7 separate regions of the Homo sapiens genome follow, and regions 1, 2, 3, 4, 5 and 6 are each linked to region 7. Evidence: promoter capture Hi-C in human tissues and cell types (Jung and others, 2019). All regions are on one chromosome and are shown on one strand. Each heading gives the region's core, a stretch centred on a gene start or on the middle of the fragment in contact. The rest is flanking DNA. Distances are from core to core; before and after follow the strand shown.

What was found. Contacts are between HindIII fragments. The study calls those that stand out against the background at their distance.
Region 1: a fragment that was not itself captured here is called in contact with the fragment with the promoter of TOX in region 7 in 1 of the 25 tissues and cell types used here (dorsolateral prefrontal cortex).
Region 2: a fragment that was not itself captured here is called in contact with the fragment with the promoter of TOX in region 7 in 2 of the 25 tissues and cell types used here (IMR-90 fibroblasts and lymphoblastoid cells).
Region 3: a contact is called between a fragment that was not itself captured here and the fragment with the promoter of TOX in region 7, in 3 of the 25 tissues and cell types used here (heart left ventricle, lymphoblastoid cells and spleen).
Region 4: a fragment that was not itself captured here is called in contact with the fragment with the promoter of TOX in region 7 in 2 of the 25 tissues and cell types used here (lymphoblastoid cells and mesendoderm cells).
Region 5: a contact is called between a fragment that was not itself captured here and the fragment with the promoter of TOX in region 7, in 1 of the 25 tissues and cell types used here (IMR-90 fibroblasts).
Region 6: a contact is called between a fragment that was not itself captured here and the fragment with the promoter of TOX in region 7, in 3 of the 25 tissues and cell types used here (dorsolateral prefrontal cortex, lymphoblastoid cells and mesendoderm cells).

Annotation. Positions count from the first base shown.
Region 1 is chr8:59,637,646-59,640,656 of GRCh38, reverse strand. No RefSeq gene overlaps it. Among named protein-coding and RNA genes, the nearest start is that of TOX-DT, 520 kb to the right of the region's middle. The HindIII fragment of the contact is 6,113 bases long and covers 1-3,011 here.
Region 2 is chr8:60,059,481-60,062,401 of GRCh38, reverse strand. The region is part of intron 2 of LOC105375861 (a long non-coding RNA gene); the gene reads right to left. Among named protein-coding and RNA genes, the nearest start is that of CA8, 220 kb to the left of the region's middle. The HindIII fragment of the contact is 4,828 bases long and covers 1-2,921 here.
Region 3 is chr8:59,957,842-59,960,739 of GRCh38, reverse strand. No RefSeq gene overlaps it. Among named protein-coding and RNA genes, the nearest start is that of CA8, 320 kb to the left of the region's middle. The HindIII fragment of the contact is 3,620 bases long and covers 1-2,898 here.
Region 4 is chr8:60,027,853-60,030,737 of GRCh38, reverse strand. No RefSeq gene overlaps it. Among named protein-coding and RNA genes, the nearest start is that of CA8, 250 kb to the left of the region's middle. The HindIII fragment of the contact is 5,129 bases long and covers 1-2,885 here.
Region 5 is chr8:58,568,205-58,571,461 of GRCh38, reverse strand. SDCBP (syndecan binding protein) reads right to left here. Exons shown (of 9, transcript NM_005625.4): 3 at 497-575. Among named protein-coding and RNA genes, the nearest start is that of SDCBP, 17 kb to the right of the region's middle. The HindIII fragment of the contact is 3,749 bases long and covers 120-3,257 here.
Region 6 is chr8:59,659,072-59,662,204 of GRCh38, reverse strand. No RefSeq gene overlaps it. Among named protein-coding and RNA genes, the nearest start is that of TOX-DT, 540 kb to the right of the region's middle. The HindIII fragment of the contact is 3,682 bases long and covers 1-3,133 here.
Region 7 is chr8:59,117,738-59,120,602 of GRCh38, reverse strand. TOX (thymocyte selection associated high mobility group box) reads left to right here and starts at 1,456. Exons shown (of 9, transcript NM_014729.3): 1 at 1,456-1,717. The coding sequence starts at 1,616. It overlaps TOX-DT (TOX divergent transcript), which reads right to left and starts at 1,393. Exons shown (of 3, transcript NR_149031.1): 1 at 1,318-1,393; 2 at 532-646; 3 at 1-267. RefSeq lists a silencer at 712-931. The HindIII fragment of the contact is 9,409 bases long and covers 1-2,865 here.

The DNA of each region.
Region 1 (3,011 bases), core at 163-2,662, 520 kb before region 7:
ATCATACAGTATGTAGTTTTTTTCAGATTGTCTTCTTTCACTTAGTAATATGCATTTAAGGTTCCTCTGTGTCTTTTTATAGCTTGATAGCTCATTTCTTTTTACTGCTGAATAATATTCTATTGTCTGAATGTATTACAGTTTATTAATCCATTCACTTACTGAAGGACAAATTGGTTGCTTTCAAGCTTTAGCAATTATGAATAAACCTGCTAGAAACATTCATGTGCAGGTTTTTGTGAGGACATAAGAAACTGTCAAACTGTCTTTCAAAATGGCTGTACAATTTGCATTTCCATCAGCAATGAATGAGAGTTCCTGTTGCTCCACATTCTCACCAGCATTTGGTGTTTGTCAGTCAGAGAATTTTGGCCATTCTGGTAGATGTGTAGTGGTATCTCATTGTTGTTTTAATTTCTATTTCCCTGATGACATACGATGTGTAGCATCTTTTCATATGTTAATTTGCCATCTGTACAACTTCTTTGGTGAAGTGTGGTAAAGATAAGTTCTCCAACGTTAAGGAGAAAAAAATTTCTCTCATGTCAAAACCTGTTTTAATCATTTTTACAACAGTGTTTCTTCTCTTGCCATGGTAATTGTACAATATTTCTACTTATTAATATATCATTTCACAAGGAAATGCATTTTTTCCATGTTTTAAACAACTGCTTTACAATGAACTTTAGAAATATCATCTAATTTTAAATTAGATAATTCTGAATGCAAGAAGTTCTATACTTGCTAGATAATATAAAACTTCTGCTACTTTATGGTAAGATTTTTCAATAAAAGCAGTTTTTCAAGGTTAGCATTTTAAGGTACTAAAGACCACGTGATAATAGGATTTTTAAGAAAACTGTACCTATAATTTTTTCTAAAAATTCTTTTTTATGTTTTCATTTTAATTGAATTACTCCTAGTTTTTCCAAATGCAAATACATAATAACACAAGGTACATACAATTTTGAATAATTTAAATATTTTACTGAGTGCATAATGATCTGCTGAAATTAGATGCCATAATTTACATAAGCATTCAATATTGTTGGACAATTGGATCATTTTCCAGTTTTTGCTATATATTTTCGCAATGGATGTCCTTTTTCACATGAACTTTTATTTCTGCTTAATAATTTCTATCTGAAAAATTCTAAAAGTGAGATTGTAAAGAAAGTAAGTTTTCCTTTGACTTTTCATTTTATTTGGAATTTTTAATTTTTTTGACATTTGTTCATCACTTTTGAATTTCCAAATGTTATTTTGGTATTGCATTTTCTTTTGAATTTTGATTTCACTTCAATTGTAATTAGGATTGGATTATAGTTTGTCTAAGTAGTTAATTTAAAAAGTTATCTTCTCTAGCTGATTGGTTGTAGCCAATACTTAATAATATAGGGAATTTTAACATTTGCAAGGAATATGTACAAAGTGTAAATATTTTCTACTCTATCGATTTCACAAGAGCTAATTTTTATATTTTTAGTTTACTTACAATAATGGCTATGTGTGGTTTACTATCCTCTTAAAATATTTTAATATGGGAAGTTCAACATTTGCTAGGAATATGTACAATGTGTAAATATTTTCTACTCTATCAATCTCCAAGAGCTAATTTTTATATTTTTAGTTTATTTACAATAATGGTTATGTGTGGTTTACTATCCTCTTAAAGTATTGTAAAATTATGCCAACATTCCCTTTACAGATCACTTAAAAAGAATCACAAATTCAATAGGTACCAAGTTATTAACAATAGAATGGTACTCATTTGTCATAAGAGAATGATGCTGAAAACCACAGTTACCTTCTTAAGTACACAAGAAAAACGTTTTTTAAAAAAATATTGTTTGGGCCGGGCATGGTGGCTCACGCCTGTAATCCCAGTACTTTGGGAGGCCGAGGCGGGTGGATCACGAGGTCAGGAGATCGAGACCTTCCTGGCTAACACAGTGAAACCCCATCTCTACTAAAAATACAAAAAAATTAGCCAGGCGTGGTGGCCAGCGCCTGTAGTCCCAGCTACTCGGGAGGCTGAGGCAGGAGAATGGCGTGAACCTGGGAGGCGGAGCTTACAGTAAGCCAAGATCATGCCACTGCACTCCAGCCTGGGTGACAGAGTGAGACTCCGTCTTAAAAAAAAAAAAAATTGTTTGAAATTTTTAACCTAAGATGTCAGAAGCATCATCATCCAGAATCCCAACAATAAAAAATCAAGATTCAGTATTAAAACTGAAGCTAAGTGCTTAGAAAAATAAAGCTAATAGTGTTATTAGAATCTGAAAATGATTAGTTCTCAATCATATATCCCTCTATTTCTTCCTAAGTTCCATGTCAAAAATATATACCATTTCCAATGTAGAGTCCAAGAAAGTTTATTAACAGTTACATGTGTTTCATCAAATATCAAAATGAAGAGCCTCCTATAGCATATAATGTAAACCCAATAATCTACTGTTCTAAAAATATGTACTCAAGATGGAAGATTTCATTCCCATCAAATATTACTTTTGTTGCCACTAAGTTTCATCTGCTTATTATAATTAGGGTGGTTGGTTTGTTTTAAAAAGAAAAGAAACCTTGATTCATATTTCCAAAGTATCTTGGGCAATAGAAGATCAATGAAGAAAAGGAAATTTGGGTTTTGGCAAATGATTTTTCATTTTCAAGTTGAAAATAAGTAACTACAACCCATATACCCAAATATAGCCATCTTCCCTATTATTCTACAAAGGCCAAAATCTCTTTCAAATAAGCTAGTCCTTAAACTGCAATTCTGCAGCCAATTTTAAGAATAGTCAGCGCAGTTGAATTTTGCTTCTCAAAATCGAAGTTTTGAATTTTGGCCTGTCATCAAGGAAAATGAAATTGGATGTTCAAACCAAAAATTAGCCAGAAGCATCTGTGGTTTGCCTACTCTGACTTCTGCCTGAAATTGAGAAATTACTTGATGAACCCCAGTTTTTCTTCTTAACCCCTACATCATGATGAAAAATGGCTTCAGTTTTATT
Region 2 (2,921 bases), core at 72-2,571, 940 kb before region 7:
AAGAAAGGGGATGTCTCTCTCTGTCCAGGAGGCCCATGGCATAGTCTGAGCTAGAGGGAACAGGGGATGTTAAATGTTTTTGATGTTTACTTTTTGTTATTACTTCCAGTCTTAGGATCCTACTTTCACATGAACACCTGAAATGGCACTGAGCACCCTGGGACATACATGGTTCCTCTGGAAACAACACAAAAATACCACTTCCCTGAAGCCAACCTTGTCCTGATACAGCCAACTTGGTCACCTCTTACTTTAACTTTCTTCATAAAAACCCTAGTGAGTGTAAAAATGAGCTCTGCCTTAATTTTTATCTCCCTTCTCAACATTCTCTTCTTTTCCTGCACACAGGCCTAAGAGAAGGTTTGTGGCAGTCTGGGGAAGTTTTACTAAAAGTGTCCAGGGCATACATTTATAAAAATAATTTTGATTAATTGCCTGAGCTCTGAACTCCCAGAAGAATGGCTTTGAGTCCAGGTGGGTAGGTACAGTCTTGTTACTTGGGAGAAGTCAGTTACTCAGAAAATAAGGTTTATGGGTAGAGGTCAGTGCCTGTGCCAAGCATATAGTAGGTGCTCAATAAGTGTTAATAATAGTTATGATATAATTAATTACAACCTGTCTTGATAACCTTTATTTGTCTCATTTCATGATACCCAGTGCTTGGACTCACTGGAACAGATGGCTGGTGCTGTAACGGTTGGTGCTCTATTAATTTGCTCTTTCTACTCTTCTGGGAACACCCACTCATGTGCCTGTCAGAAGCTGGGTCACCCTTCTGGGCTGAGTTCATATGACATGTGCCCTGGAACCTTCCAATCTGTGCTCCTGTGGCATTTTGGACTTTGCTCACTAAAGTGCTGGTTACAAGGTTTTGCAATTAACCAGATATGGACCCTGAGCTCTATAAGAGCCCACATCTCCATGTGATTTGTTGTATGCTCCGTGACTTTCTCTTGAAGGAATGAATTGGATTTTGCTTTGGTTTGAGCAAGTAGGGAAGTCAAGAAGGAATGGACTTAAAACTTCAGAAGGGCCCAGACTGAGAAAACATTTGACAGTGGAGAGCTTACTTCCGGTTTATACTGAAGTAAGTAGCAGAATGGGAAGAGAAAAAAGAGCAGGATATTTCTAGGAAAGCTTTTTAAAATCCTTCTGTTCCTTATATCATAGATTTTTTCCCACAGACTTAGCAAATATTCACCATGTGCCCACAACGAGCCAGGGACTGTGGAAGGTTCTGGAAATGCATTGATGAACAAGATAGCCAAGATCCCTGACCATATTCAATCAGTCTTTTGCCCTGCTCTACACATAGATGTATTGTATCCTCTTGTAATCTGGTTCGACGCTAGGCATATTTCTCCAGATTTAAGTAAATAAAACTGCAACATGACTGAATCTTTCATTTGGTCTTTGGCGCCTGCAGCAGAATCTCTTGGTGGCATTAGCCCAAAGGGTCAGCTAATCTGAGTTTTTCATGTCACCAGGTTGGGAATCATTATGGTTTGATAGATGTTAACTTGTCCACATTATTCTCTTCCAAAATAGAAGCAGAGTAAGAAATAATTACTTTCTCTTTGAAAACCATGGAAGCTTGAGAACTAACATGCCCATTAAAATAATTGTAGAATACTTGCTTCTATTATCTAGTAGTTATTTGTTTGCAGCTTGGCATCCTGGGTTTGTGTTCTTCAGAGATTCAGGATGTTCTTTAATGATTAGGACTCACTGTGTTTATGATACATATTCACTCACATTTTTCAAAATTGATGTGGGCATGAATTGGGCTGGATTTAGTCTCCTTTTTCTTTCCAGGTGAGCTTAAAAATCCAAAGCGGGGGGAAACCTCTTAACAGAGCAGAAGCCTTGGATGCATTGTCCCTGCTCCCCCCACCCCACCCGTATTCATTTCTAACTAACGCTTTTCATCTCAGAGGGTACATGAATATGTAAGTGCAAGTGCGGCTTATTGTGAACTCCGAACAAAGAGTAGTGCTGTAGATTTCAATGTGTTTGGACCATAATGTGCTGCTTTCTTGATAATGGGCTCTCTTGGCATTGAAATGAAAAGCAAACATATCATTAAGAAGGCGCTCCATAAAAACTGTCTGTCATATATCTTAAGCTTCATTAGTTTAGATTAATGACTTACTTGATATACATGACAATAGGTGAAGCAAATCTTTGTTTATTTATTGACAATTAAATGTGGCTCTGACACGCATAAACAGGCTTCTCTCTGATTAGTTCCATGTTTTAAAGTAACTTTGTGTTATAAAACTTGTTAACTACAGTATCATTTTATTGAGCTCTGCTCGGTGAATGATGTGATCTACATTGAAAGGCATCAATATTGCAGCCATTCCTGGCAGTCACTGGAGCATTGTGCTCACAGATTGGAGTTGATATCTCATTGTACAAATTCAGGGACCCAGAAAATGTCCAGTTATTGAGCCTCTGCCCTGCGAGGACAATGTTCTATTCATGGAATCTGGGTCCAAGGTCACAGACTGAAACCTGAACGAAGGGTAAGATTCAAATTCGTTTCATGATTTTGCCGAGGACCTCCCTGAAATTCAGTGTTTTGAAAGCATGAAGCTTTTCCCAGAGTATCCTGTTAATGCAATGCAAAGAAGCATATACATAAATATAGTGCGTTCTAATTAGGAGGCCGCTAGAGGACCAAACAAGCTTACCTTTAAAAATAGATCTTGATAGGTCTGATATTATATTGATTCAGATGACATAAGAAAACTTCCAAGAACACTTCATAATAAACACACCATTTTAGAAGAGGCTGGGAAACCAGGGAGAGGAAAAGAGGAGGAAAAGGGTAGAAGGGCAATGTGGCATTAAATGTATCTGCATGCTTGGCTCACTGAAATATTCGTGGTTTGCCTTTCCAGGAATTCAAAGTTGGA
Region 3 (2,898 bases), core at 33-2,532, 840 kb before region 7:
AGGGTTGAAAGCCAGATTTACCAGAAAGCCAAGGGAGTTGTGAGAAAAATAACAAGTTGAACATTTCTTTCAGTTCTCAATATGACCTCATATTGATATCTGTGAAAACAAACAAAGATAAGAAAGTGGCAGATGTTGTTATATTGCTTGACTGGGCCAGAACATGCTCTTCACGCTTTCCATATGTTAACTAGTAATCCTCCCCATCTCTGGAGAGGTAAGTACTCTTATTATCTCCACTTTACAAATAAGGAAATGTGGTACGAGCAGATTATTATTATTATTATTATTTGCTCACACTATCATAGCTATCAAAATATGAAGGTAGAATTTGAAGCCATTCAATTGGACTTCAGAATACATAGTTTTTACCATTGCACTATTCTCTATTTAGTAGAAAGTTAATTTGTGAAGTTAATAAAAGCAACTTATTTCCCTCCTGAATATCCAAGATACACCAAGACCAGAGAGTATTAAAAATTCTAAACATTCAACAGTGTCTCCCCATCAACTTGGAAACCAGGGGTGTTTCCTCTACCTTCCTACACTTACATTCTTAATTTTTGTTGTGCCCTTTTACCTGTCAATTTATCAAACTGGAGCAGCAAAGTATGGTCCGTAGACCAGCAGCATCAGTACAACTTGGGAGCTCGCTAGAAATGCAGTCTCCTACTGAATCAGAATTTGTCTTTACCAGGGGGTGATTCATATGCACATGAAAGGTTGAGAAAACTGCTTTAGATTGTCTTTTAGAAAAAAAGGTATTCACAAATGAGGGCCAGTACATCTTCACGACAAAATTTACTGCCCATTCCCACCTCCTACCCAATTCACACCAAACTTCACATAATATCACCTGGGAGTTTAGAAATAAATACAAATTCTTGGGTCCCTTTCTAGATGTACTGAATCAAAACTTTTCAGGAAAGAAAGCTAAAGTCTTTAAAAGTATCTTGAGTTTTTCTGAAGTGGGGTTAGATTTGGACACTTGGGTTGAGATTGTAACACCTCTTTACCTCTGTCTAGAGTGCAGAAGAAATGCATGATGAATCCAATTCATTTATCAAGGCTCAGAACAAAGATGGCCTTCTCTCTCAGGCTTTGCCTATGTCTTCAGTTAAAATCATTTTATTTCTCATCATGTGAAACATCCTTTGCTATTGTACCTATTACACTGTGCTTATTTGTTTACATTCCTATCTTGCATCCTGGCTAGATTTCTTAATAGGAATTCCATAAATTTTTATTGGATCAATGAATATATAACAAATGACATGCGTTATGAGCATATAGTACCATTTAGTAATAATGGTACTTTCTTACTATTGACCATGGCTGCTTGCTTTACCATCTACTATTTATTAGTGATAGAGTTTTTCATTCTTGCAGTTCCTTGCAGATGAATTATTTCATAGCATCATGTTAGGTTATCATTTTTATGACTAATATTTGTTTTAAATATTTGTTCTTATGTATAGGTGAAAAAGGTAAAAATACCAAATTATCCACTTAAATATATTTTATACATGGTTCATACATAATTTCATGTTAAGAAACTAACCAATGCATTTAGCTTTAGTTTGTTCTTAATTACAAAAAAAAAGGTATATAAGTTGAACTAATTCTCAAAGATCTGTTTGTTCTCTTTCTTAGAGCTTTCAGAATGCTCTTATTGTTTAAAAAATTAAAAAAAAACATGTTTTGGAAATTTTCTAAAGGAGAATTTCTTTAGAATCAGCAATGAGTAAGACTATACTTTGACTCCCATTTCTTTTCTTTCTTCTTAAAAAAAAAAAAGCATGGCCTTTACATAGATTTAAGGGCATCAGAAACTTCAGAGTGACTCATAGTAGCTACGTTTTCAACTTCCACTTCAAATTTCTGAATTTAGAATTTCCCTGTGGAAACCAGAAATTGAGTTTCTCCTGATTATTTAATTTATAATTGCTCCAGCTATTTAGCATGACAAAGTTAGCTGAAGCAATTTGGAAATTAGGCCGTGTGGTCACAAAATGACACCAACAAAAATGAATGAAAATCTCCTTTGCTATGTAATGTACAACTTCCTATTCTTAGAAAGGTGCTTCGCTACAGTTGGAATCAGATTAAATATTCACTACCTTGTTTAGATTCTTCTATTTATCCTAGGGTTTACTTAATTAACTCCACTGTTCCAATTGTAAAACACAATTGTCAATTTTAGGCAATATGATCAAAGGTGTAATTGTAGGGGAAATATGTAAGCTTTATATATCCCCTTTAAAGATAATCAGAGTAAATGTTTCCTTTTCCTTAGGAACAAATATACCTATTGACTGGGCCCAAGATGGGAGACCTTGCTTGAGGCAAACCTTCCTAACCATTAAACAAAACAAAGTTTATGACCCCAAACAGCTGTTACTAAGTGGAGGAGGAGGTTTTGTATAAGGATGACACTGAAAAATAAAACTAAAAATAGAATTTATTAATAAAATGTATAAAATTGTATTTTACATACATAGATAAAACTACACATTTACCTTACTTCAGTAGACGGTCACATTCAGAAGTTCAGAAGACAAAAAAATGTGAAGAATTTAGAGAAGTTCCAGATATAAAAATGATTTATAGTATTAAAAATAGAATCAATGAAATAAATACATAATGACCAGAAAACATTTTAGAGAAGAGAAGCACAGCTCCATTTATGTGTCGTCAAATCAATAGGCTTAAAAGATGTAAAACCCACCACACTTGATGAATAGCTTATAAATAAGTTTCCTCTTAGTGAACTAATCAGCAGTTTGAATCAACCAAATTTAGCATCACCTGAAGGAGAGGGCTAATTTTTAGCTAGAAACTTACAGGTTATATACAAGAAGAAAACGTGGCACTTGGAATAATCTTTTTTATTAATTG
Region 4 (2,885 bases), core at 98-2,597, 910 kb before region 7:
AGCCTCTATTCCTCTGAGTCTAAACTCCTACTTGAAGTCTCCCTACCCCATCTCTTCATGACATTCAACTTGCAGATCTCTTCTTCTCTATCCTCCAGACATTCTTCTGCTTATCTAAGTTTTATTCATCTAAGCACTGCTCAGCTGACATAGATTTGCCTGCTTCCTTGTAGATATCTTCTACTTCATTCATCGCTCATTGATCTGCTGTTTCCCAGTGATGCTTTATCATTTGATTCCTACCTCATAGATTAATAGGTTTGCAGAATACTAAGCTCAGCTTTTTAATGTTTATACATGAGGAAATTGAGTATCAAGGAATTTGGTGTCATTAATCAAGATGGCGCATATGATATCAATATAGTGTTTTGAAGGAAAGACATTGAGCTTCTCTTGGAATGTGGAACTTGTTTTACCTGTTGAGTACCTAAGTTGAAGGTTATTGGCTGTACAGATCTGCTGCTTACAAGGCATGTGTAGACAAGAGATCCTGTCTTGGAGTCCACTACTGTATAAGTGACAGCAGAAGCCAGGAGAATGGTTGAGAGAGCCCAGATAGTATTTGGAACTAGACAACGACAAGGACTGGACCTTGGGGATTTGCTGGGATTCTCATGTACTAGAATACAGCAGAAATCATGCTATTGCTAAAGTGAAACCAAAATCAGGTTTCTGGGGAAGCTAGGGGAGGAGAAGGAACAAAGGTGAATGAGAACGCTGGCGGGCAGAGAGGTGGAGGCAGGTGAGGGTGCTGTCCTGCAGTAGGCAGCCCATAGAGTGCACTCTCACAGAGACCCTGAAATGTCGCACGGAAAAGAGCGCATGCTCTGTATGCCACCATGTGCTACTCGGCTTTGATGTCTGTGTGTATGCTCTTGAATATGCATATTTAAAACGGTTCCTCTCTATTGCTATTCAGCTGTGATAACCATGCATGCATGGTTTTAATAAGACTTGGCCATAGTTTTTCAGTTGCAAAGGTATAGACGGAATCCATGTAAATATCTTGTTCTATCTCCAAATGATAAATTGGGTAACGATATGAAATTCGCTTTAAACATTGCAAGTAAAAGGAGTATGTGATTTAAAAAGTCATGCTTTGGAGGTACCGTATGAGCAAAATTCCTATAATCAATCATCCACAGCAAACTATTATTTAGAAATGATTTGAAAATAGATAAGCTGAAAATATCATATTTTAAGAACAAGAGAAAAGTGATGATGTATCAAAAATTACTTCTCTATAGCAACATATTGGGTTTGGGGTTAAATTTAGTGTTGTTTATAGAATCATAGGAAGTAAGAACTTCAAAATATCTCAGGAAGAAAATAAATATTGGTGAAAACACATCTTACTTAAATTTCTCTGAAACCACTTTAATTTCACTCAAACTTAATGTATTATCAGTTTAAAGTCAAACAAAAATATTTTTAACATTGTAAAGGTTTGGATTATTGCTTTAGAATGTTTAAAAATAAATTTTAGTTGGCTCAAACTTTTTTATTGCACTCCACACACACTGTACATACAAATATACACATAATATTATAATGTCAATATACAGGCTATATGGAAGAATATATTAGAGGTCTGAAATTCTCATATAGTGCTGGGTGAATCTGAAATATATAAATATTGAAAGGCTTATAATCTTAGAAGTTAATATCTGGAAGGGAAATTAAAGGTTATGCTCACTACAGACAAGTGAGAAACTGAAGCCCAGAGATTTGTTCAAGGGAGTAAAGATTTAGAAAGCAGTGCTAATAATAACATAACAACAATAGTAACAACAACGATAATAACTACTTCTATTGAGTGATTACTATGTGCCAGATAATGTCCTAAATATGGTAATATGTTATCCTACTCAGGACTTACAGGTAAGATTATTTTTCCCAATTAACAGGTAAAAAACACGAGGCAAAGAGAGTTAAAGAATTCCTATGTTCCAACTTAATAAAACAAATATAAATTTCATGACCTGCTTTTATGAGATTTGAAATCCAGAACTGATAATTATTATAATTAAAAATAATTCCAGAAAACGGGAAAATGCGTCTTTATTTTCAAACTGCACTACCTTCTCTCCCAACACCCTCTCCAGTCCCAACTCAAGAGTCACTGCTCTAAAGTGAACCATTATTTGTCCAGGTGTGGTGACTCATGCCTATAATCCCAGCACTTTGGGAGGCCAAGGCGGGCGGATCACCTGAGGTCCGGATATCAAGACCAGCCTGATCAACATGTTGAAACCTCGTCTCTACTCAAAATACAAAAATTAGCCGGTGTGGTGGTGCACATCTGTAATCCCAGGTACTCAGGAGGCTGAGGCAGGAGAATCGCTTGAACCTGGGAGGCGGAGGTTGCAGAGAGCCAAGATCATGCCACCACACTCCAGCCTGGGAGACAGAGGGAGACCCTGTCTCAAAATATTAAATTAATTAAAAAAATAAAGTGAACCATTATTTATGTATCCATTCTTAGGAATGTCATCTTGAGAAGCTTGTTCTTCCAATCTAGGAAAATTTGCTGATCATGCAGGCATCTTGGTAAGTATTGTAAAAGAACAAAAATGAAAAGACATGACCCCATTCTTAGGAAGAATGTAGTCCGACAGAGCACAGAGATAGAAATCAAAGGCCTGGGTTTGGGGAGGACGTAAGGGCAGGGCAATCTCATAAGCAAAGGTTCTGAGATAGGAGAGCCAGGGTGGGTTGGGGGACCTGAGGTTTCCTATCAGCTAAGATGCAGAGAACATCTAAAGGGTAATGTGCTAGACAGAGAGAAATGCCTCCCCTTTGTACACACACACAGCACTCTCTCTTATTGTATAACATTTCATTTGGTCTTCACAACATCTTTATGAGGTTGGAGTTCAACCTAA
Region 5 (3,257 bases), core at 745-3,244, 550 kb after region 7:
ATCCCTCTGAACCTTGAAGAAAAAGGGACCAAAGACAGGATACAGAGAATGAATAAAGGCCTTAAGATTTAGGAGGCTTCCCAAAGAGGAGGTGGTTGGAAATTTCAGAAGCTCCCATAGGAAAGACAGAAGACAATTCAGAAAGTTCAACAGCAGCAGCATGATAGTTCTTAAATGTGAATTCATATAGTTCTCATATGTGAATTCATATATATAATTCATTCATAAATGAATCAGCCACGTTAGGGATTTACAAGTCAGTCTAAAATTAATTTTCATTAAGCCATGAAATACATCCCCATATCCACAGTTCACTATCTTAATTAGAAAAAGGGTTATTTTTTGAAGTAAACTTTTTTTTCTTATTCATAACTATTTGAGCTTAACTACCAATTTTATGCAGCCTGTCCAAAAAAAAATCTTGGATTCCTTATATGAGCAAAAGAAGATAACAATATTTCTGTTCACAGAGAATGAACTCAAAGTATAAACCTACTTCCATCGTGAGGGATAGGAGCAGAAGCTTCTGACAAAATTGCTGGATTGGCAGGGTTTGCAGAAAAAGCAGTTTGAGCCTGAAAAAGAAAAGAAGAAAATTCTAACAATATGCTATACTTACTTTATATTCTTATATAATTTATAAGCTAAATCCAGTACTTCCAAAAAGAAACTAAAACAATGAAGATTTATGTAAGAAAGTTTAATTTCAAACACATCAGCAATACATTTTCCAAAGGAAATCTGCAAATCAAAACTATATTTGATATTCTAAATACTTTTAAGGCTATCACAAAAAAATTGTAGAAGTACCATTCTACATGTCTTATAACCAGCACTTCATAGTGCTGCCACAATAAATTAATATTTTCAAAGTGCATTCTAAAATGAATAAATTTTACATTTTCATTATTCTTTTACTAATTAGTCCAAGTAAAAATATTTTATTTGCATAAGAAAAAACCTTACCCATATTCATATAAAAGTCACATATCAGAAAAACACCTAAAAAATTAATACTAAGCATGTCCCACTGAAATCATCTTTATCTTCATTGCAGCAAGTATAGGAAGGGGTTTATGCTAAATACTTTTAAAATATCAGAAATTATGAAAATAGCACAGTTTATCACTGACATAAATCGATGATGACAAGGTAATGTAATTTGTAACTGTTAAACAAACTTGCCAAAATCACTCTGACACACTCTGACACTCTAGCATTTATCAATGCTACTCATGCTCAAGTATCCTCTTCTCAGGGCTGTCTTGATGGCCTACATCATATGAAGTATCTCACTGATGGAAATACTTTATCCTTTACAATTAGATCTGACTTTCTGAAATAGCTATATGTCATTAGAGACAAGTTTGGTAATAAGTTGTATGACCAATCTCTACCAACTTTTTACTTTATTGGAAATGTATCATTTTAAAAATGAAGTTCATAGTAGTATCTCAACCTAGCCCTAAAATCAATGTCAAGAGTATTCCCAAAGATGCTTGGAGATATGAAAGCTTAGTTTAAATAAGTAAAGCCTATGAAAGCTTTGAATGGTACTAAAATTATATGTTCTGATATACTTGTTGAGTCATCCTTTAATATTTATTATTTCATAATTTGTTAAACATTCTAGATTTAAACAAAATACAGCATGAAAATCTTTATAATTATAAATAACAATCCACAAATTGAACATGTGTTGAACTTTGAAAGTTCTTTCACCACCGATTAGCTAAAAGGAGCTAGTGGCTTGTTATATTACTTCTTGAATCATGTCTAACAAAAAAAATACTGTGCGGCACTGGGAAAAAAAAAAGAACTATAAAGACATGAAAAGACATGGAGGAAACTTAAGTGGATATTACTAAGTGAAAGAAGCCAATCTCAAAAGGCTACATACTTTATGATTCCAACTATACGACATTTTGAAAAATGCAAAATTGTGGAGATAATAAAATATTAGGCCAGGCACAGTGGCTGAGGCCTTTAATCCCAGCACTTTGGGAAGCTGAAGCTGGAGAGTTGCTTGAGGCCTGGAGTTCAAGACCAGCCTGGGCAACATAGGAAAACCCTGCCTATGCAAAAAATTGTTTTGGCCAGGCACAGTGGCTCATGCCTGTAATCCCAGCACTTTGGTAGGCTGAGGTGGGCAGATCACCTGAAGTCAGGAGTTCAACTGACCAACATGGCATGTTGTCATGTTTGTCATGGCCAACATGGCAAAACCCTGTCTCTAGTAAACATACAAAAATTAGCCGGGCATGGTGGTGGATGCCTGTTAATTCCAGCTACCCGGGAGGCTGAGGCAGGGAGAATTGCTTGAACCCAGGAGGAGGAGGTTGCAGTGAGCCAAGATCGCACCACTGCACTCCAGCCTGGTGACAGAGCCAGACTCCGTTTTGGGGGAAAAAAAAATTTTCTTTTTAAACTAGCTAGGTGTGGTGGTGCATGCCTGTAGTCCCAGCTACTTAGAAGGCTGTGGCAGGAGGATGGACGCTGCAGTGAACCATGACTGTGCCACTGTACTCCAGCCTGGGCAACAGAGCGACATCCTGACGCTAAAGAAAACACAAAAGCAAAAGCAAATTATTGGTTGCCAGGAGTTTCTAGAAGGGAAGGAAGAACAGGCATTAAAGAATTTTTCGAGCAGTGAACCTATTCTGTCTAATGCTACAATGGTATACAGTCATGTGCTGCCTGTTCTGGTCAATGATGAACCACATATACAATAGTGGTCCCATGAGATTATAAAAGAGCTAAAAAATTCCTACTGTCTAGTGACATCATAGCTGCCGTCACACAGAACAACTCATTACTTTGTGGTGATGGTGGTGTAAATAAGCTTACTGCACTGCCAGTCATATATAAAAAAGTATAGCATCTACAATTATGCATGGTACATAATACTTGATAATAATAAATGACTATGTTACTCATTTATGTATTTCCTGTGTTATACCCTTTAGAGTATATCCTTCTACTTACAAAAAAAGTTAACTGTAAAACAGTCTCAGGCAGGTCCTTCAGGAGGTATTCCAGAAGGCACTATTACCATTGGAAATGACAACTCCATGCATGTTACTGCCTCTGAAGACCTTTCAGTGGGATGATGTGGAGGTGGAAGACAGTGATATTGATGATCCTGACCCTGTGCAGGCCTAGGCTAATGTGAGTGTGTGTCTCAGTTTTTAACAAACTTACAAGCGATTTTTAAAAACTAAAAATTTAAAAAATAGGAAAAAAGCTTATAGAATCAG
Region 6 (3,133 bases), core at 479-2,978, 540 kb before region 7:
ATACAGCTCTCTATATTTTCTTACTCTTATGTTTTTTTTCCATAGAATGGGAGCTTGGTTTTGTCAGAAAGAAAACAAATTTAAACTCTCTGAGGCTGAAATCAAGTTAAAACCATTAAAAACAAAACTGTATAACCAATCAAAGACTAATACATAACCTACCTTGCCTTCTCAGGTACATTATGTCAAGTATTTTAAATGAATAATTTTAAAATAAGCATTTTTGTGCACTGTTTCTCTCATCCCAACTCATATGTTATCTCAGTAAACACACCTTTCTTTGTTTCTTTGTCTCTATTTTCATTTCAGAAATAGCAGCCCCTTTAGTTTAACTTACAGTCATTGTGTTGATAAGCCCAAGTCAATCATGGTTAATATAACAAACCTGTATTATTGTAGGTATTAATAAAACTTTAAAATTTATTAATGTTAGAAATGAATACAGTTCCTCTAGTCATCACATTATCAATACTTACACTGCATTTAGAATTTTTATTTTCCATTTATATTTTCACCCAGGTAATCAAATGAAGGCATTTTTAATAACCTATTTTTCAGAGCAGGTTGATTGATTATAACAAATGTAATTTTCCATCCTACTTGAAGATCCATTTTCATATTACACAAAACATTTGTACACTGAGCTAGTGCCAGATAGCAATTGCATGAAATAGCATGAAGATAATGTTTTTCTATAGGAGGGAAGAATGCATGCTTTTCTATTTTATAATATTCTGTAGAGGTCATATATGAGTCCTTGTATTATCTACTTTCCCTGACAATGCCATCATGCCATTACAAACTACTTTCTCTCTAGCTTTTCTTTTTAATGGGCCAAAGAAATTGGATACTTGTCTTAGTTGGCAAGGGCTGCTATAACAAAGTATCACAAACTGGGTAGTTTCAACAACAGAAGTGTATTGTCTCGTAATTCTGAAGGATTGATGTCTAAGATTAAGGTGTTGGCAGAGTGAGCTCCTTCTGAAGGCTGTGGTAGAATAGTCAACTCTAAGCCCCTCTGTTTGGCTTGGAAATGGCCATTTCTCCCTGAGTTTTTATGTCATCTTCTCTCTGTATGTGCCTGTGTCCAAATTTTCCCTTCTTGTAAGGACACCAGTCATATGGGATAAGGGCCTCTCCTAATGATCTCATTTTAGCTTGATCTTTGTCTACAAAGATCTTGTTGCCAAATAAAGACACATCTTGAGGTACTACAGATTCAGGCTTTAACATAAGAGTTTTTTTAATTGCAGAGGTGGTCAGTGGAACACAATTTGACCTATAACAGTTGTTTTAACTCTATTTTGTCCCATCTCTGGGCAACATATTTTATTGGACATTTCAGAGTAAGAAATATACTGGAAGAAGAGTGTTTTGAATGTTTTTAAGACAAATAGATGATAAATGCATGAGGTGATGGATCTGCTAAATACTCTGACTTGATTTCTACAGTGTGTACATGTGTTGAGACATCACACTGTACCCCATAAATATGTACAATTATTATGTGCCAATTAAAAGCAAAATTAGAAACTTTAGCTCTCCTGTGACAAGTTTGGTTAAAGAATTTAGGCTTGGCATCAACAATTCGACACAATTCAAACATTTACTCAGGACTAGAGACATGCTGGTTTCTAAAATCAGATGATTCAAAGATAAATAGGAAAAAGCGTCTGTAGACCTCAAGTGGGGTTACAGAGACAAACAGAATTAACCCAATCAGTGCTCTGTTATACAGGCACAAATGTAAAAGAGACGAGGGAATATGTGATTCATTTTTGGGGTACTCAGGGGTATCAGGGATAGCCTCATGGAGGTGAAAACACAGAATTCGGCAGGGACTGCACAGTTGTGAGAAGATAAGTTTTAGGGAGAGCTAAGTAAGGCTGTCCTCTAAGCCTCCTACCAGCCTTACATTTCATGCATTTAGTCTTAGAGACATTTGGTTAACTGGATTGCTGGGAGTGGTCTAGAAGAATGTTGCTTGCTAGAAAATGCATGTCCAGTTCCCTATGTGTTAGAGGGGTTGTGCTAGATGCTGTGGAGACAGATGTGAATATGTTGCTCCTGCTCTGAAAAAGCATGTTATTCGCCCATGCACTCTGAGCATTCTCCGAGTTCTGCCACACCTCTATGGAGCATGTGAGACTGGTTCCTGTACTAAACCCTTTGCCACCGGAATAGTATAAATGGCCTTCATTTTCCTCTAAAAAAAATACCAATTTCCCCCTCCCCATTCCATGTAGTTATTAATCATTCAAGCTTTACTGTTCAAAGGAAAACATTTATTTATTGGCTCAGCTAGCACTGAAGCAATATACTGATATGATTATATTTTGGTAACCATTGTCAATATTGCTGGAGGCATAATTTGCTCTAATATGCTAAAATTTGTGAGATCATTGGCTTTCACTAGGGTTTCTCTGGCAAAATCTGTTAGATTTTAGAAAAGATCTTTTAGAACATAGGAAGGGTTTAATAGCTTGACCATATGATGAAATGGCCTTTCTTTGTCAAGCATAGTTGGTTTCATTTATGACTCAATGTGAAAAGACAGGTTCCTAAAGAAAGTTTCCACATTTTCATACTGTTCATTAATATTTTAACTTGATTTTACTTAGTGCCCAAATGAATAACCCATGAAAAGATTTGATTTTATGCCATTAATTGTCGCAGATTTTAAACCCTCTGTAAGGGTCGACAGATGCAGCGTTATTATGAATCATAAGGAATCTTAGCAAGATGCATTCCCATTGTCACTGAACTAGTTAAAGCCAGTGAGGCAGGACTAAATTGTTGTGACATTTTCCCAGCCCCACTATTACCTGTCAAATAGGAAAAAAATTCAAAGCATCAGGACAAGCTTACGTATTGATGGGTTCACTCTTGTTATTAATTGAAGTAAATGGATAAGCTTGTCCATCAACAGTAACAAACACATCTGCTCATTGTTTAAAGAAAAATCTCCTTAACCTTCTTTTTCTTACAGGTCCCTGCGATTTGAAAAATGCTTCGTTCTGTATTCAAGAACCATGATGACTATTGTGTTTGTTCTACCTTTTTTTTTAAATTTGCTGACAAAGTGAAATATGGAATACTGTATTCACTTATTTCATGTTTGGCTCACAATGGA
Region 7 (2,865 bases), core at 207-2,706:
CCTCATGAGATGGAGGACAATGTCGCCCACACCTACTTGGACCTCTCACCAAGGACACTGCCCTCAGAGATAAATCTGTTGGACGGCAGCCAAGAGACCCCAAATTGTCTCAACCTCCAGGACACGGCAAGTTGCAAGTTTCCGAGTTGGGGAGGCAAAGCGGGAAAACATGTTTGGCGATTTCCTCCTGCCACTCACCGACCGGAGAAATGGGGAGGCGGACTCCAGGTCTTTCGTGGACTGCCAAGAGCCCTATAGGGCGTCCAGCTATAAAAAGAGAAGAATCCCATGAAGGACAACAAGCAAACTCATATGTTATCCCTTTAGCCGGATTGTGTGCTGATGATTGTTTCCCTATTTACACTTCGAATCACCCCTGTGGTCTTTTGTGAGTCCCCAAGGCAGCCTCAGCCTTCGCAAACCGTCCAGTGGGGCACGAATCTCGGAGGGGTGCGGGCTGCAGGCGGCAGAGGGAAGCCAAAGAGGGGCGGCTTTTCCAGGCCGTCCACCCCCAGGCGAGCTGGTCCTCACCCTTCGATCGGCTCGAGTCCCTCGGACAGTTGCCCACTCACAGCGTGCAAAGGGGTCGCACTCCCTGTGGGTTCTCCGCCCTCAGAAGCGGCGCTGCGCAGGAAAGTCACCTCCACTACGGGCCGGGAGTAGGGAGGGGAGCACAGTGACAGGGTTGGGGAACAGCCGAGGAGGAGTGGGGGTCGCGGAGATAGGGGTGGGGACGGCCGCGGAGAGGGCGGTGGGAGTGGGGTGGGGCCGGGGAGGGCCGGGGGCGGGGCTGCGGGGCGGGGTGCGCCACAGCGCCCCCTAGCTGCGCGCTCCCCACGGTGCCCTGAGGCCGCTGGTGGCTCTGGCTCGGCAGCCCCTTTGTGTGCGACGCGCTGGTCCCGAGGAGCGCGGCACGGGCACAGCGGAGGCCTCCCAGGGTCCCACCGCTTCTGTCCCAGCCAGGCCGTGCTCTCCTCCTTCTCCTTCTCCGCTCCTCCTTTCTCCGGTCCCCGGCCTCTGGTTCCGAACAGCAGCCATTGGGCCTTGACGAGCCCGCGTCCGGCCGCGCTCCCTACCCCGCCCGGCCCGGGACGCTCGCCCCCCTCCCGCCCTGTCCCTTCTGGATCCCCGCCCCACCCCCCCACCCCCCACATCCCGGGCCTCCAAGGTGGAGAAAATAAACTACAAGCAGAACAACTCAGAATCTCCAATAAAACGCCCAGTACCTAGAGCCCGAGCGCGTGTGCCGGGCTGCGAGGGGCGCGGGAGGCGGGGATGGGGGGGCGGGCGGGGGGGACAATGAGCGCATGAAGTTACCTGCCCGGCGGCGGCGGCAGCGGCGGCGGCGGGACCAAGAGGCGGCGGTGGAGCAGGCTGCGCGCTCGGCGCCGACGGGTGCGCGCCGCGGCTTGGGGGAGAGTTGAGCGCTTTTCCCCCCTCTTTTTTTTTTTTTTCCTCTTCTTCTTAAACAAACCACAAACGGATGTGAGGGAAGGAAGGTGTTTCTTTTACTCCTGAGCCCAGACACCTCACTCTGTTCCGTCTAAGCTTGTTTTGCTGAACACTTTTTTTTAAAAAAGGAAAAAGAAAAGGAGTTGCTTGATGTGAGAGTGAAATGGACGTAAGATTTTATCCACCTCCAGCCCAGCCCGCCGCTGCGCCCGACGCTCCCTGTCTGGGACCTTCTCCCTGCCTGGACCCCTACTATTGCAACAAGGTGAACGCTCTGCTTTTGTTTCCACCGTGTTCTTGCTGCTTGATCCTGGGAGGGGAGCGGCGGTGGCCGGGCCGCGGCGGGGCCGGCTTGGCGGAGGCCGGTCCCGGGCGCGCTCGGCTCGCAGCCCGCTGCAGCCTGCGTGCGCTTGGGTAGTAAATATTGTGGAGTAGCTCCGGGGGCTTGCCAAACACCGCGATTGTGCGGAAAGTGACACGATTTGCTCGGATTCTTTCCTTCCTGCTGTTCGCGGCTAAGGATCCCTGCCTAGGTTTGCCGGGGGGCGTTTAAAAAAATAATAAGAGAAAACCGTGGAATACTTTGGGGGTGTGTCTGGGGTCCAGGAACGGAGGCAGAGTAAGAGAATTCAGTTTATTTCCCAGTTCCCCCTTCTCTCTCCCTCCCTCCCCGGGCAGTGGGGGCTCGTGGCACCACTTCCCTTCTCCGGATTAGTTGCCAGGGGAGCAGCCGGGAGTCGGGGTGCAGGGACCTGGGAGGCGCCCCTGCCCCCCACAGGGAAAACTGCCCCACAACTCTTTTGTTTTCTCAAACCGGTTCCGGCAGCCGAGCCCGGGTTCGGACACAGGTCCGCGGGCCAGAGCACAGCGGGGTAGCTGGGTCAAGGTTTGGGGAACAGTTCCTGTTTAAGGGGTGCGCGCGGAAATTGCAAGTTTGTTGGGAGCCGGGCGAGCACGTCGCGTTCAAGTCCAAAGCTCCCGCACTCGCGGAGCAGGGTCCGCGGCTGAGCTGTACCCACGGCCCGCTGACCTCGGGTGCCAGGGCCGCGGGGGCCCGGGGAGAGGCGGATCATGCCGGTGACCCGGAGGTGGGGCGCTGGCCTGGGCTGCTGCGGAGTTCGGCTGGGTCCACCTATAGGACAGTCAGGGGGTACGAGGGAGGGGGTTACTCTCCCGGCTTCTCGAACTCTCTCATCCCAGAGAGGGAGGACACGCAGGGACCGGTCCCCCAGAGTGGTCGCAGGGGCACGACTGCCCACGCCTAGGGCTAGTTGGACGTGTCTAAGCAGTCCCGTTGGATGAACGTTGGCAGAGAGAATTGAGTTCTCTAAAACGCTGGGCGGGCCTTTTAGACGCCCAACTCTCGCTTGGTGATAAATCTGCCTGATACTCACAGCCCCTGCAGGCACATCC